Regions from separate parts of the Homo sapiens genome. Here all the other regions are linked to region 3. Evidence: promoter capture Hi-C in human tissues and cell types (Jung and others, 2019). All regions are on one chromosome and are shown on one strand. Each heading gives the region's core, a stretch centred on a gene start or on the middle of the fragment in contact. The rest is flanking DNA. Distances are from core to core; before and after follow the strand shown. Region 1 overlaps KDM5B (lysine demethylase 5B). Region 2 has its middle 5.8 kb from the start of SYT2. Region 3 holds the start of RABIF (RAB interacting factor).

What was found. The method cuts DNA at HindIII sites, captures the fragments that hold promoters and counts their contacts. A contact is called where the count stands out against the background at its distance.
Region 1: a fragment that was not itself captured here is called in contact with the fragment with the promoter of RABIF in region 3 in 3 of the 25 tissues and cell types used here (hippocampus, mesenchymal stem cells and small bowel).
Region 2: a fragment that was not itself captured here is called in contact with the fragment with the promoter of RABIF in region 3 in 1 of the 25 tissues and cell types used here (adrenal gland).

The regions. Positions count from the first base shown.
Region 1 is chr1:202,744,195-202,746,919 of GRCh38, forward strand. KDM5B (lysine demethylase 5B) reads right to left here. Exons shown (of 27, transcript NM_006618.5): 15 at 1,948-2,129; 16 at 1,664-1,788. Among named protein-coding and RNA genes, the nearest start is that of SYT2, 35 kb to the left of the region's middle. The HindIII fragment of the contact is 4,315 bases long and covers 1-2,725 here.
Region 2 is chr1:202,714,919-202,717,618 of GRCh38, forward strand. No RefSeq gene overlaps it. Among named protein-coding and RNA genes, the nearest start is that of SYT2, 5.8 kb to the left of the region's middle. The HindIII fragment of the contact is 3,632 bases long and covers 1-2,700 here.
Region 3 is chr1:202,887,699-202,890,398 of GRCh38, forward strand. RABIF (RAB interacting factor) reads right to left here and starts at 1,451. Exons shown (of 2, transcript NM_002871.5): 1 at 1,275-1,451. The coding sequence starts at 1,400. RefSeq lists a silencer at 857-1,146 and an enhancer at 1,217-1,486. The HindIII fragment of the contact is 13,847 bases long and covers 1-2,700 here.

The sequences.
Region 1 (2,725 bases), core at 96-2,595, 140 kb before region 3:
ACATACGTATGGCCAACAATCATATGAAAAAAAGCTCAACATCACTGATCATTAGAGAAATGCAAATCAAAACTACAATGAAAGGCCGGGCGCAGTGGCTCACGCCTGTAATCCCAGTACTTTGGGAGGCCGAGGCAGGCAGATCACAAGGTCAGGAGTTCAAGGCCAGCCTGACTAACATGGTGAAATCCTGTCTCTACTAAAAATACAAAAATTAGCTGGGCATGTTGGCACGTGCCTGTAGTCCCAGCTACACAGGAGGCTGAGGCAGGAGAATTGCTTGAACCCAGGAGGTGGAGGTTGCAGTGAGCCGAGATCGCACCACTGCACTCCAGTCTGGGTGACAGAGCAAGACTCCGTCTCAAAACAAAAACAAAAACAAACAAAAAAAACACCACAATGAGATATCACCTCATACCAGTCAGAATGGCTATTATTAAAAAGTCAAAAAGTAACATGCTGGCAAGGTTGTGGAGAAAAGGGAACGCATATACACTGTTGGTAGAAGTGTAAATTAGTTCAACGATTGTGGAAGACAGTGTGGTGATTCTTCAAAGATCTAAAGACTGAAATACCATTTGACCGAGCAATGCCATTACTGGGTATATACCCAAAGGAATATACATCATTCCATTTATAAAGACACATGCATGTGTATGTTCACTGCAACACTATTCACAATAGCAAAGACATAGAATCAACCTAAATACCCATCAATGATAGACTGGATAAAGAAAAATGTGGTACATATACACCATGGAATACTATGCAGCCATAAAAAAGAATGAGCTCGTGTCCTTTGCAGGAACATGGATGGAACTGGAGGCAATTAGTTAGCAAACTAACACTAGGAACAGGAAAGCAAATACTGCATATTCTCACTTATTAAGTGGGAGCTAAATGATGAAAACACATGGATGCATACAGGGGAGTAACACGTGAACACATACAGGGGAACAACACACAATGGAGCCTATTGGAGGGTGGAGGGCAGGAGGAGGGAGAGGCTCCAGAAAAATAACTAATGGGTACTAAGCTTAATACCTGGATGATGAAATAATCTGTACAACAAACGCCCATGACACAAGTTTATCTATGTAACAAGCTTGCACATATACCCCTGAGGTGAAAAGTAAAAAGCAAAAAACAAACTATATTTTCATAAGAAAAAAGAGAGAGAGAGATATAAAGGGTAGCAGTGACTTTCAAAGGTAATGACAAGTGCCAGGGACCTTAACTTTAATTAGAACTAAGAAGTGATAAACTACCATTTCAGAGACTCCTGATTTAGTGTCATGCTGCCTTTGTCACAAGATGCTTTGTTTTTGTTTTTGTTTTTTTAAAGATTTCAACATCTTTGTAAGAAATGTGAAATTTTTATTTCTGAGACAAAAATAAAGGTTTCCTAACAATATCGTTTTTGTTAAGTAAGTGATGTTGCACAACTCATATAACAAAATTTCACTGGGATGTAAGGGCAACTGCCTTATCCACTCTTGGTTTTAAAACCTTCTCTGCCGGTGCTCTGTAAACCGGGCTATGTAGAGGGGCTAACCAAGGATGAGGTCAGGCTGTTTCAAGAAATGTTTTGTTGACTTTAATTTGGCTACATCACAATAAGCCCCAATTTGCCAATCACCAAGTCACTTTCTGTATCACATACTTTTCTTCTTGTTGATCTTTGCCTCCAAAGCTTCATTCACATTCAAGGCCCATTCGTTGTAAGATTCTGCTCGAAGCTTCAATGCATTCATCATAGGGTAGAGATCATCCAGCGTGTACCTATACCTGGAAATAATACCACCACACTTAGCTTTGAGACGTGTAGCTTTGGAGAAAACTAGATGTTTTATACTTAACATTTCAGCCCTAGAACTGCGGTATCATTGAGCTTTTAGTAAGGATCAACTGTTTTCCATAGGAAAAAAAATCGTTCTTCCTACTTACCGCAATTTATATTTGTAAGGAGGACAGGAACACAATTCTTTTACATGATGCAGGCAAACAAGAAGGCCAGGTTTACAAGAACAGGAGATGGCAGACATGAAGCATGTAGTTTTGCATTTTACACACTGACGTTCATCATCTGGCAACAGCTCAAAATCCATTCTTTCCGAATCAATCACTCCCTAGAATAAAGTATACTTTAGAGAGACCTCCAAAGGATAATATAATCCACCAGCCCAAGACAAACATGCAGTAGTACTTGAGTCTGAAAAAAAAAAAAAAGCTTTACCAAAATAGGGATGCATGATTAAAAATGTGTGGCATACAAAGAAACAAATGACCTAGCAAATACAGGCAAGTTCATTTGTCTAGGGAGATCTCCTTTTTCAGACAAGGCAGGTCCTTATGTTTGGTCATTTTGATCTGAGTATGAACACCATAGGACTGTAAAACTACTGAGATTAGTTATCTGTTCTACTACAAATTAGCCTTGTCCACATTTTGGGTATAGATAAGAGGTATAGATAAGATTAAAAGAAAGGAATATGTTTCCTACTTCTGAGGAAATATGGAGAATCTATTAAAAGGACAAAAATAAAAGGAAAGAAGATGGGACGAGTGGAAAAGACTATCGTGCAGAAATTGAGTTTGGGAAGATGCTGAGTGGTCTCTCAGCCTTTTACAGGAAGTTATATGAAAGGATATCATTAACTGAATAGTTAGAAAATTTGTGCAATAGCAAAGACTAAAGTCATAATTAAACATTTCCTCCTAAAAG
Region 2 (2,700 bases), core at 92-2,591, 170 kb before region 3:
TCTATGCAATGAACAAAATAAAAACAAATAACTCTGAGCTCAGATAAAATGTTTAAATACAACAGAATGGGGCAGACAGAGGACTACTGGATCTATAACATTATACTCCTAGAGGGGAAGCTTTTTAAAGTTTTCAAGACCATATCTGGCATGTGGAAGAAAGTCACTAGGATGCAAATAATAATCACAGAATTTTATCAGATCCCAGGAACTAAAGAATGTCATGAGGACCTTGTCTTTTCATATAGTAACAATGATTGTTTTTCCTTCTCAAAGGAAATATCAACCTACAACACCAGAGCAGACCCTTCTTCCTTCTGCAATGAAGTACCAGTCACAGTTTTATGTCCCAGGTAAGTTTCGCTGAGCCTCAGTTTTCCCCCTCTCATAGAAGAGAAGGTTCTTCTGAGGTGCTCACCTTCCGGAATGTGAAGAGCAAATGGCTCAGACTACTAATCACACAAGGGCAGGATGTCTCTTCTTACCAGAAGGCAACTGTAGGCTTTGAAGCTACCCATCATGGGGGAGATGAAAAGCAAGTCAGTTGAAACATTTTCTGAATAATTAACCCTGGTGCTTTAATATCCGTGTGTCCATTAAAACTCTCCATAAATTGGAGTTGTATCTCAGAACTGCCCTTGGGATGTGCCCTAGCTGTGGAAGGCAAGCACCAAAGCACAAGAAGCCACAGCAGAGACATGTGGGAAAGAAGCTCTAGGACTGATACGGTCCTTTCTTCAGTATCCCAAGTCCATCTGCCACTCTTCTCTGTAGCTCAGGAGCAAATCTGGAACAAGTCTCTTAAGCTTCGTATTTGTCCACGTACCCATCACCTATCCAGTCAATAACATTTACCACGGCCGGGTGCGGTGGCTCACGCCTGTAATCCCAGCACTTTGAGAGGCCGAGGTAGGAGGACCAGCTGAGGTAAGGAGTTAAAGACCAGCCTGACCAACACGGTGAAACCCTGTCTCTACTAAAAATACAAAAATTAGCTGGGCGTGGTGGCAAGCGCCTGTAATCCCAGCTACTTGAGAGGCCGAGGAAGGAGAATCTCTTGAATCTGGGAGGTGGATATTGCAGTGAGCCGAGATTGCACCACATCCTGGGTGACAAGAGCAAAACTCGGTCTCAAAAAAGAAAAAGAAAACAAACAAACAAACAAACAAAAACACCCGGAAAAAAGCAATTGCCTAGAGTGCAGATAATACCACCACCCAGGGTATTATCTGTCAGGAGCCCTGCAGGGAGCGGGCAACGTGGAGGGGAACACTTAAATACTTCAAGGATTTCACAGCCTCCTTGATGCAGGGAGTGAGAAACATGTACCAAAAGAAAAGTATAAGATGCTGTGGGAACCAGAGAGAGAGCCACTAACTCAACCTGGTAGGAAGTCAAGAAATAACGGCAGGCTTCCCTGATGAAATAACCTTTCAGCTACCACCAGAGGAAAGACTGGTTTTCTAGGTAGGCAATGAAGAGAATGGCATCCCAGGCAAAGACAGCAGTAGTGGATAAAAGTATACAGTGCACTCATTGAAGAGCTTAAGCACTGGAGTCAGAAAGCTATGTGACTACTCTAACGCCTCAGTTTCCTTATTTGTTAAATGAAGACTTCACCACCTACTTTGAGGGATTGTTGTGAAAATTAAATAGTATAATGGTTCTAAACAGCAAGCAGGGCCTTAACAAAATAGGTAGCTTCTATTATGTGGCTTAGGGAAATGTAAATAGCTCAGTGGAGCTAGAGTATAGGGTAGGTTTGGGGAGGAGGGAAAGATCAGAGGCAAAGGCAAGCTCATGACAGATTCTGTAGACCAACTGTTTGGATTTTCTTCAGAAGGTAATGGAAACCATTGAAGGAATCTAAGCATAATCCATTTTATGCTTTTAGAAAAACCACTCACAGCTGGAGTTGGGTTAGAGGGCCTGTAAGTTCCCTTCCTTTGCTGACTTCTGAAAGGAGGCTGCATACTACATACTGCCGTGCTCACCACTTTGGATTCTGGAGACAGACTTCCTGAGTTCCAATCTCGGCTCACCTCTCAGAGGCCATGAGTTAGTGACTTCATTTCATAGCAGCATGGTGAGAGTCAGCTTAGGTTATCTGATATCTAGGACAGTACCTGATGCTCAGTCAGTGCTCAGTGCGTATTGAGTATTACAGTAACTGTTATTATTTCTGGCTCCAGAAGACCAGCAAGCCTAATGATGATTCTCTACATTGTTTGCTCCAGAGAGGTTGAGTGACTTTCCCAAGGAAGCCCAGTGAGTCTAGAAGCCATGGGATAGCTGCCTACCTCCTCATACTGTCTAGGGCCTGGCTGGAGAAAAGTTCAAAAAGGAGGATTGAACACCCTTTGTTAGATCCTGTTCCTACCACCCTAACCCCTGGCCACAGAACATTGATTGCACATGGTCTCATTTCTAGACTCAAGATAGCTGTGTGTGTGTTCGTGTGTGCACGCACATGTGCACACATGCTAAGACCTACAAGCAAAACATGTTTATTGGTCTTTTTAATTATTTATTTTTGAGATGGAGTCTTGCTCTATTGCCTAGGCTGGAGTGCAGTAGTGCGATCTTGGCTCACTGCAACCTCCTCCTCCTGGGTTCAAGCAATTCTCCTGCCTCAGCCTCCCAAGTAGCTGGGATTACAGGCGCCCACCACCATGCCTGGCTAATTTTTGTATTTTCAGT
Region 3 (2,700 bases), core at 201-2,700:
TTGCCATGTTGGCCAGGCTGGTCTCACACTCCTGACCTCAGGTGTTCCGCCCGCCTCGGCCTCCCAAAGTGCTGGGATTACAGGCATGAGCCACCGCGCCCAGCCTAACTGTTTTAATGTTAATGAATGATAGTCAGGACTCAATTCCATGTATGTTTCAATTCCAAGATCCATGTTCTTTCCACTGACTCCATAATGCCACTAACTTCGTAAAATTAATTGAGAACTCTACTCCTAAACCTTGAAGTCTTAAAAGAACCCCGGGACCTCCACCAATCTCTAGATCAAAAGTCATCAAAATACCTACAAAACAACAGACACAGATTCCCTTTTTTCCTCCTTTGATGAAAGGCTGTTTTGGACGAATGGGTACCTCTTGCTCTTCTACTAGACATTACACTTCACCATCTGTTCAAGCACGTGAAATAATAAAATGATCTGCATATTTTTAGAAATAATTTTGAATGATAGGATGTGTCTATGGTTGAAATGACATTATATTTGCACTTCAACACAGTTTACCGAAATAAATTTTTTTTTCAACTTTCTCACTTGCGATGATGGTGGTAGGAAGGGTATTAAAATCCCTAAACTGAAGGGAAAAAAAAAGTTTTTCTTCGAAATTTACTTCCAGGACGTCAGGGATCTACTGCACTTGAAATATGATTCATCTGGAAAACCACAGGCTTCCAGTGCCTCGGTAAAGTGGGTAGGTTACCAGGGTTATTTTGCCGCGTCCCCAACACCAGTTGTTCCTGGGGATCCTCTGTGGAGCAGATAGGTGCCCGTCATAAATGAGACGGTGAATTCAGGACTGGCGGGTGAGGTCTAAAGTGGGAAAGGAACCCAGCAACACCCGCGGTGAGCGGCGGCCGAGAGGCACCTGCCGGGTCCTGCAAGCTGGCGGGAGCTCCGAGAGCCGGAATGGGGCGCCTCCCTTCCACGCGCCCGCGGAGCACCGGCCTTGGACGGCGGCGGGGCGCACGGCCCGCGCTCGAAGCCCCCCCGGGGGCAGAGGGCCGGGCTGGCTGGGCCGGGTGGCCCAGGGAAGGGTTCCCGCGGCAAAAGATGCCGGGGCGGGACCCGGTTCCCTCCCTAGCCTTCAGCGGCCCCAGGGGCGGAGCCTCGCCGAGCTGAGGCCCGAGGGGCGGGGCTTAAGGCCGCGCGAGGAGGGCGCGGTTGCCGGAAATTGAAGAGCCGGGGTTCAGATTCTGACTGCGGCGGCTCGTCGGGGGAGACTGTGGGTGTAAACGGCCTCCAACCTGCCTCCCTACCTGTCGGCGAGAGAAGAGAGCGGTCCCTGGCTGCAGCACCCGGGAGCCGCAACGCTGGCACAGCACCGCCTTCCGGTTTCGGCCCTCGGCTGACACTAACTCGCTCGGCTGCTCCGCTGGTTCCATCGCCGCTGCCGCCACAGGCTCCTCAGCCACGGCTGCGCAGACGCTGTCTCTGCTGGCTCGTTATTCACTGCGCTGGCGCGGCTTGGCAGAGGCGGGGCGGCGAGCGGACGGTCACTATGTCTCTGCGCAGGCGCCCGCTTCCCCGCTCTGGACTCTACTGCGCAAGCGCCTTCATTCATTGCCTAACCTAAGTGGCTAGGTGTCGGCAGGCTTTGTGACAGGGACACTTCTTGGCACCAGTGACACATCTCCATACCCACCTGGCCACTGGGCTTCACTTAAAACCTAGACAAATCATTAGGTTGACCTTACTGTTTAGTTTTCTGGGATCTGAATTTAGTCTCCTGAATAAATGGGGACATTATTGGGGGCAATATGAAGGGAATCTGGGTCGGACTTCCCATCAAGTTTTAGCCACATTAGCTTCTTCTATAGGAAACTACTTAGAGGGGCATGTATCTTTTCGGTATTGGAAAAAGATGCGTGGAAACTTTAATTGCTGGTCTCTTCTACTCATTGTGACCATTTACTATGCGGCAAAATGTGTCAAAGCGCCTTTAGAAACTTACTAAATCATCAGTTTCCTTACGGGGTCGGCACGCTTGTGCACAAAATGAGAAAGGTAAAGATCAGAAAGGTTGCAGCACAACTCTAAAGCCACTGCTCTTAATTAACTAGGATTGTCAGGAAAGCAAGATTATTTCAGACAGAACAGTATTATATATGAACAAGGGTGAGAACAAATTTAGGAATGGTTAGTAGACCACTGTGGCTGACCCACATTACACGTGGGGAGAAGTGGTAGTAGAGGTAGGTAAGGCAGAGTGGGCCCAGAGCTCCATGGCTTTAATGTCATGCTAAGGAATTTAACATTAATAACATGAACAATGGGAATCTGTGGAATTTTAGGCCAGAAATAACTGTTCGATATTTACTGTCTGCTGTATGTTAAGCACTGTAATGATCCTATCTGTGCTTCAGAAAGATAACCTATGAATAAATAGAGGGGCTAGATTGAAGAGAGGAAAAAGAGTAGAGGTAAGGTATCAGGTAGCTATTACCTCATCAGTCTAGCTCAGAAAGGCCCTGAAGCTAGCAGAGGGAACAAAGATATGGGAATGGACTTGAAACAATTAAAATTGTACAGAACTTAGAAACTAGCTGGATGTCTGTATTGTGATGGGGGTGACACAAAGCAACTGCTGGTTTTCCCAGGTTAGATAACTAAGTAGCTGGTTGCCAGTTATGGGAGCTTAAAAAAATAAGATGAACCACCAAATTAGGGGTATCTCTGTGTATG